Regions from separate parts of the Homo sapiens genome. Here all the other regions are linked to region 1. The links are contacts of gene promoters, found by promoter capture Hi-C in human tissues and cell types (Jung and others, 2019). All regions are on one chromosome and are shown on one strand. Each heading gives the region's core, a stretch centred on a gene start or on the middle of the fragment in contact. The rest is flanking DNA. Distances are from core to core; before and after follow the strand shown. Region 1 holds the start of CACNA1S (calcium voltage-gated channel subunit alpha1 S). Region 2 overlaps CACNA1S (calcium voltage-gated channel subunit alpha1 S). Region 3 holds the start of TMEM9 (transmembrane protein 9).

The links. Contacts are between HindIII fragments. The study calls those that stand out against the background at their distance.
Region 2: a contact is called between a fragment that was not itself captured here and the fragment with the promoter of CACNA1S in region 1, in 2 of the 25 tissues and cell types used here (liver and psoas muscle).
Region 3: a contact is called between a fragment that was not itself captured here and the fragment with the promoter of CACNA1S in region 1, in 1 of the 25 tissues and cell types used here (ovary).

The regions. Positions count from the first base shown.
Region 1 is chr1:201,111,129-201,113,714 of GRCh38, reverse strand. It overlaps CACNA1S (calcium voltage-gated channel subunit alpha1 S), which reads left to right and starts at 1,289. Exons shown (of 44, transcript NM_000069.3): 1 at 1,289-1,527. The coding sequence starts at 1,376. The HindIII fragment of the contact is 14,734 bases long and covers 1-2,586 here.
Region 2 is chr1:201,070,034-201,072,619 of GRCh38, reverse strand. It overlaps CACNA1S (calcium voltage-gated channel subunit alpha1 S), which reads left to right. Exons shown (of 44, transcript NM_000069.3): 17 at 2,216-2,348. Among named protein-coding and RNA genes, the nearest start is that of CACNA1S, 41 kb to the left of the region's middle. The HindIII fragment of the contact is 4,386 bases long and covers 1-2,586 here.
Region 3 is chr1:201,153,193-201,155,778 of GRCh38, reverse strand. It overlaps TMEM9 (transmembrane protein 9), which reads left to right and starts at 1,305. Exons shown (of 5, transcript NM_001288565.2): 1 at 1,305-1,921. The coding sequence starts at 1,856. RefSeq lists a silencer at 1,229-1,508 and an enhancer at 1,919-2,068. The HindIII fragment of the contact is 5,085 bases long and covers 1-2,586 here.

The sequences.
Region 1 (2,586 bases), core at 40-2,539:
AACCTCCTTCTCCTGGGTTTGAGCAATTCTCCTGCCTCAGCCTCCAGAGTAGCTGGGATTATAGGTGCACACCACCACGCCCGCTAATCTTTGGTATTTTTAGTAGAATGCGGGTTTCACCATGTTGGCCATGCTGGTCTCGAATTCCTCACCTCAAGTTATCTACCTACCTTGGTTTCCCAAAGTGCTGGGATTACCGTGGCTATCCTCAATGAACTTTTCTTTTTGAGACAAGGTCTCACTCTGTCTCACTCTGTCATCCAGGCTGGAGTGCAGTGGCCAGATCTTGGCTCATTGCAGCCTCAACCTCCCAGGCTCAACTGATCCTCCCACCTTGGCCCCCCTAGTAGCTGGGACTACAAACACACACCACCATACCCTGCTAATTTTTGTATTTTTTGTAGAGACAGAGTTTCACTACGTTGCCCCGACTGGTCTTGAAGTCCTGAGCTCAAGCCATTCTCCCACCTCAGCCTCCCAAAGTGTTGGGATTACAGGCGTGAGCCACCATGCCTGGCCTCAGTGAACATTTACAGGGAGCATAGTACATAGGGGGACTGTGCAGAGAAGGGGCCAGAGTCCCAGAGATAATGCACACAACCTTTACACCTGTAGGGATGGGAGGAGATGGGGAAGAAAGATACACAGCAGATGCTCCACAGTGAGGCAGGTGCTATGCCAGAGGTGTGCACACTCAGGGTTGTTCTGGGAGCCTTCTAGCCCACTGGAGAGGGGTTTACTGTTTCTCTGACATGGGATTGCTTGTGGGGGTGGGTTGAGGGTATGCTTGGGGAGTTTTGGCTGATGGTGCAGATACTGAGATGGGTAGGGGCTGCTGTGGAGCTGTCCTGACTTAGGCTGCCCAGTGCCTTCTCCAGACAATGTCATGGGGCTGAGGAGGGGTAAGCCTAATTTTGGCATGAGGGGGCCACTCTGCAGTTTGAGGTTCCATATCCAAGGCTACCTATTCCTGACCTCTGTTGCCCCAGGCTTGAAACCTTCCATCCTGTCTCCCTCTCCCACTGCCCCTGCCCCATCCCAGGCCTGTGTGTAAGTTCTTCCCCCGACCCACCCCACCCTCCTCAGGGGACAGATTGGGAAGTCACTGGCTGGGCTGGGTGGAATGACAGCTGCCTGGCCTCAGAAGCTCAGGCCCGGCAGCGGGGAGCCGAGTGGAGGCTAATTTTACTTGCTGGGAGCGAGGAGAGTAATCCTCCTGCCCCCACTCCTGCCCCCGCCCCCTGGCTGGCTCAGCAGGGCAGGCTCAGCCGACAGCCTCAGCCAGCCTAGTCCCCAAGGCGGGGGCATTGGGGACACAGGGAAGGGAAAGCACTGGGGTGGGGGAGCAGGAGAAAGCCAGATTCCCAGGGAAGCCATGGAGCCATCCTCACCCCAGGATGAAGGCCTGAGGAAGAAACAGCCCAAGAAGCCAGTTCCTGAGATTCTGCCAAGGCCACCCCGGGCCTTGTTCTGCCTGACCCTGGAGAACCCCCTGAGGAAGGCCTGCATCAGCATTGTAGAATGGAAGTATCCTTCAGGGCCCGGGCCGTGGGGGGGGGTGTGCGTCATGAGGGAGGGATTCGGGGTGATCACAGAGCACAAACTTCCTACAGGAGGGCCAGGGAGGCCTGGCACTTAGACATGGGGTGAACTCACAGAATTGAGTGAGGAGCTGGGGGAAGGAGCCCTCGGCTAAGCAGGAGAGGAGGAGGAGGAAGAGGAGGAAGACGAGGAGGGTGGGGGAGGAGGAGGAAGAGGAGGAGGGTGGGGGAGGAGGAGGAAGAGGAGGAGGAGGAAGAGGAAGAGAAGGAGGACTTGGTGGGGCTTCCTGGGCCTGAGTGGGCCACCCAAGTCCTGGATGACAACCAGAGATGCCTACTGACCACCTATGGGTGGGGCCTGTTTCATGGGGACTGTTCCCATGTGTGCCCAAATCCACATTATCATGGGGTGCCACTAGGTTTTTGAAGCACCAGCCTCATTTTAGAATAGGATAGGGACCAAAAAAAGATGCGATGGCCTCTTTGAGAAAACTCTCCCTTGTTTGGGTTGGGTGGGGGGTGACAGTGGACAGAGGTGAGCTGAAGGAAGGCTTCCTCTGGGGGCAGGTCCCAGCTGAGGACAGAGCCAAGGGGAGAAATGGATCTGAAAGACACCTGGTCTCAGTGGCTCCAAGACACAGGCCAAACAAGCCTGGTTGTTCTAGCTCAGACGTGCCACCCTGGGGACAGGGACTTTGAAACTCATGCTATGTTTGCATTTGCTCTGGTGGGGAGAATGATGAAAATATCTGGGTTATTTGGGGAAGGGAGGAAGGAGTGACAGAGAGAAGGGGAGGGCTGTGTCAAGTGGGTTCTGAGAGCGAGGGTGGGGCATATTTGAAATATTTCTGAAGAGTTCTGGAAGGCTGGGCTCCTACCAGCTGTTCCCTAGAAGGAAGGAGAATGAGGGATAACTGGAAGGACAAGAGAAACGTGGGGCAAGTAGAGATAGTTTGGGGTCAGGGTCAGCCCTGTTCCCCTGACCCGCTCTCGGCCAGGCGGTATATCGCCCACATCAAACCCTCCTAGGCCCTCCCTCCTTGCC
Region 2 (2,586 bases), core at 40-2,539, 41 kb after region 1:
ACATCCCTTCTGTGCAAATAAGCCATCTGCCAGCTTGTCTCTCTCAACAATGCACACAACAGAAAAACCCATACATTTTACTTTCATGTAACTCAGCAAGTATTTATTGAGTGCCAGCTATGTGCCTCACTGCCAAGGACTCAGTTTTCAAGAAGCACAGGGACACGTGGGTATACAAGTCTTCCCTGCCAGTCATGCAGAATGGATCATAAATGAGGACACGCCCATATATGTCGTGATGAGGCAGATTACTCACTATCCAGTGTCTGGTAGGGCTGGGGGCCGGAAGGATACAGGGATGGATAGAACCATGGCAGGCAATGTGGGAAAGTCCAAGAGGAGGAAACAATGGTGGGGTAGGGGGAGCATGGATAAGAAACAACCGTGGATAAACCACAAACATCTCATAAATGCAAATAGCCAGTGACTGCTGCAGAAATCCCATTTATCTGGACCAAGAAGAGGACAAGCAGAACCAGGCTGAATTAATCTTACCAGGCCACCTGACAGAGCCCTGGGGCCCAAGAACTCTCTGGGTCCTGGGTCCTTCGGATCACCGGGTCAGTGGGGCAATTTTAGATCTACTTGTCCCATCAGCTGATCAGCTACTTGTATGTCTACTTATGGAATCAGCTGATTAGCATCTGTTTGCCCCAGTGACTCTAAGCTCCAGGGGGACTTTTGTGTTCCACACAGCACAGTGTTTGGCTCAGAGGAGGCACTCAATAAATTGAATGAATGAATGCATGAAAGAATTTTGCAAAGTGAAGTATGGGGAGAATGGAGCTGGTACAAATAAGAATAATGAAATTTCTTCAAATATCTACCAGCAATGAATATTTGTGTTTTAGAATAACTCATTTTGAGTTGTTTCATCTAACAGTTATCACCTCTTAGATGGCAGTGACTTGTGTGCAGGTGAGATGGTGGCTGACAGGAAATCTGAGGTCAGGGACAAGGAAGGGGCTGGAAAGAAGTAAGGAGAGGAGGGGTAGAGGGGGTGTGGGCTGGACAGCAGGAAGAGAGTCTTACCAAGGGGACTGAATGTGTTTATATCCTGCTTCTTTCTAAAAATAGTTTGAAATGGCTTACAGCAAAAGATATGTGCAATGAAATTAACAAACTGGGCATAGGTGGAGGAAGTAAGAAGGCGGGGGAAAGATGCAAATATGCTAACTCGAAGAATTAATGGTCTCTGCGATTAAGCGTGAAATGTGTCTCTGGGGTCTGTGGCAGGCTGGGCAAGACAGAAAGTGTCACGTTAGGACACTCATTCCAAGGAATAAGAGTTCTAGCTTCTCGGGGGAACAGAAAAATTGGAATGTGACTTGGTGGATTTGAGAACCCCTACAGGTGGCCATGATGGAGACAGTAGAATCCAGTAGCTCTTGGCTTCCCTCAAGGCCTCTGCCAGGGGCCAGGAGGGTTAGGGAGGAGGTAGCTGTCAGGGGAGGGAACCAAGAGAAACCCCAGCTTTGAATAGTGCCCCCACCGTCTGATCACGGGATTCTCCCACCCTGGGAGCTGAGGATTTCGGGTACTCAGCTTCCTCTTGAGGTCATGAGACTCAGTGAATGTGCTTGGAATGTCCGTCTCTTCATCCCCTATCCCCTGCCTGCATCCTGGGGACTGGGTGAAGCTCAAGAAATTCTGATTGCTTTTTTCCATGCTGGAAGAAGCTTCTCTGTGAAGTTACTATTTTTAAAATCCTAGCCCAGGAGAGGATCACAGGGTCCTTTTATTTCAACAACCCTCCTGCCCCTTGTCGGTTTCACAAATTGGAAACTGACGCTAAGGAAGGGCACAGACCTTCCCAGCACTGCACAGCAAGTTAGACGCAGACCTGGGACTAGGACCCAGGTCTCTTCTTCTGAAGCAGCGTTTCCCACTCCATCCCCCAGCCTATGGATATTTGAGGCTGTGTGGATCGAGCCTTGAGACACAACATGCAGCCACAAAGTTACTTGGGCTTGCTCCTTGCCCCACTTCTGGAAGGTTGTGGGCTTCCCTTACCTACCCTTGACGCTCAAATCTGCTCACTGTGAAGAGAAGGAGATGCCCGGGCTGGACTCTGCCAAAGCCCTAGGGTCCCAAGTCAGCCTGGTGGTCCCTTGCTTACTGGCTGCAGGGGCTCCTAGGAGGGCTCTGAGCACAGAAGCCATGGGCATAGCAAAGCATGGGAAGACACCCCTAATTCCTCTCTCTCTCCCCACAGGGGATGACGAGGAAGATGAGCCTGAGATCCCGCTGAGCCCCCGACCACGTCCCCTGGCTGAGCTGCAGCTGAAAGAGAAGGCCGTGCCCATTCCAGAAGCCAGCTCCTTCTTCATCTTCAGCCCCACCAATAAGTGGGTGCCCCTTGGCTGCTGTGGGGGTGATTGATGCGGCTCTCATCTGCTTCCCTGCCCTAGAAAAAACCCTGTCTGACTCTCCATGCCTACAGTTATACTATGAGAAACTCAGTGTTTTAGCTTAAGATCTTGTGCCCTGTTTAAAATGCTAGTATATCTGGGAAAAGTAATGCTTTAAACCTTATCAGTTATTTACACCTAAGAGGGACCTGTTTATTGGTTCCTTTCTGAGAGA
Region 3 (2,586 bases), core at 24-2,523, 42 kb before region 1:
GACTTCTGAAAGGATTCCAAAGACTTCCAAAGATCCAAAGGCGGTGTCCTAAAGGAAACCACCCAAATTCACACAACTAGGAAGGGAGGAACCAGGATTCCTGCCCTGGTCACTCTAGCTCCAAAGCCCCTGACCTTTGCATCACACTGCAGGCCTCCTGCCCCTGCCCCCTGCCAACTAGATTTAATTTAATTCTATAGAATTCAGTTTAGCAAACACTTCCTGAGCACCTACCAAACACAGGTCACTCTGCCAGGTGGCAAGGATATAAAGAGGAATAAGACATAAGCATAGGAGAGAGGAACACAAACTCAGTGGCCTCCAGATAAGTGCCCACCTCAGTTCACAGGGCCTGCGAGGGGCTTGATTCCACCTGGACCCAGCCCCTATGCTAATCCAGCCACCAACCTCAAGTTTGGGCCATATTGATACCCCTCCCACCCACCCCTAAGGAATCCCAACATATCAAAGCTGAAGGGGATCTTAGAATCCAACCGAATCATTTTACAGATAAGGGAAGTAAGGGAAGCTGAGGCCCAGAGAAGGGAGGTATCTTTTCCAGGCTAACACAGCTGCTTAGGGGGAGCGCCAGGGCCAAAGCCCCGGTGTCCTCACTCCGGGTCTGGTGCCCTGAATTCATATGACTCCCCTTTCCTTCACAGCTGGCAAGAAGTTCACATCTGCCACATAGCAGCCAGGGACCCTCACCCCTGCATCCTGGCCATGCACACTTTGCCCCATTTTGCCAGGCCCAGCACCAGCATGGGGTAGGGGGATCAGGCTGAGGACGCTGTTGTGCACACTCTTCACAGGCCCAGCCCACACCACCCATCGCCAACCCTAGATTTCTCCTTCTCAGAGGTGTGTGTAGGGGTAGAGACGTTGCCGCGCAGAAAGTCTTCTGCAGCAAAGACGTGGATCCCTAAATAACATTTCCAGATTTTGAATGAGGACAAAGCCCTTCAATCTCGTATCGTTTTTGTTGACGTTACTAGCTTACAGTGTATAAAGCGCTTTCTTTCTAAAACAGCAAGATGAAACAAGCTGAGTTTTATAATACAAGGAAGGGAGAAGCACCGCAGTGGGAGTTCTCAGGCCACACAAAGGCAAGACCCTTCCCCAGGAGTTTGGAAGGCTGACGTTCCCTTTTCTGGTTTGGTCGGGTTTGAGAAATGCCCGCCTCTCCCTTGCGCAAGAGTCTCCCCGCCCAGGTGAAGGCGGGTCTTGTTGCCATGGCGACAGCGCGGTCGGGTTAAGGGGCTGCTCTGGCAACCAATAGAAGCTAGGAGAGGGCGGGGACAACTGGGTCTTTTGCGGCTGCAGCGGGCTTGTAGGTTCGTGGACGCGGCATTGGGGGAGGGGACGGGGGTCGCGGGGCTATTGGGGGTCCCAGTCCGGCTTAAGACCTCTGGGCGTGGTGGGCACCGGCCTTCGCCGTCGGAGCAGGGGTCCCAGACTCGCACCCAAAAGTTCCCGTCGGGCCCGAGCGGGGAGGAGCTGCGGGGCGGGCAGAGGCGGAGATGGCGGAGGGCGGTGGGACGTGATGCGCGGGTCAGAGCCGGGCCTTGAGAAGGAACTGGAGGCCCCTGGCAGCGGTGTCCCCTCGAGGACCCCTCTGCCGGGCTCACCAGGTGGCTGGCGGAGAGCCGGAGAGTTGGGCGGGAGGGAAGCAGGGTTTGGCGACCAGGTTTAGCAGGCCTTGGAATCCTGGAGCCCAGCCCCCAACCCCATTCCCACTTGGCCGGATGGTTAAGGGCCTAGCGTGCTGGCTGCGGTGTGGCCACCTTCCCCTTCTCCGACTCCGTATCTCTTTTTCCAGGTGTCCGGCTTTGCTGGCCCAGCAAGCCTGATAAGCATGAAGCTCTTATCTTTGGTGGCTGTGGTCGGGTGTTTGCTGGTGCCCCCAGCTGAAGCCAACAAGGTGAGGGAGGTGAGCCTGCAGCACCTGGTCACGACCACAGTGCACGGCCACCCTGTCTACAGGGCTGACTCAGAGGTAGCCAGCTGCTCCTTAAGCCTGCCTCTCACTCACCTATGGGCCATACTTCTTTTAGTGGTCTTCCTTCAGGTTCAAGGCTGCTGGCCTCCCTAAGGATAGTGCGGGTGAGGAGTGAGGAAGGGTGGGGCACAGAGCACTGGCTCACTCTGATCAGACAGATCAGTGGTGGACTTCCAGCAAGGAAGTTTGGAGAAGTTATCTAAGTTCTCCATACCTTCCTTTGCTTTGGACCAAAGTATGTTTTGTTTCAGATATTTTTGGATTTGGGAGTATTTGCACATAAAAAATGAGCTATCTTGGGGAGGGGACCTAAGTCTAAACCTGAAGTTCGTTTATGTTTCATATATGCTGTATATACATAGCCCGAAGGTAATTTTATACAATATTTTCAATAATTGTGTGCATGAAACAAAGTTTATCTACACTGAACCATCAGAAAGCAAAGGCGTCACTATCTCAGGCACCCATGTGGATAGTCTGGTTGGTTGGCATCACCACCATTCCTGACAATGAATTTATATGCTACCGATAAATATTTTCTTACGTTACACATAAGTTCTTAACGGTAAAAAAATATGATGTACTAT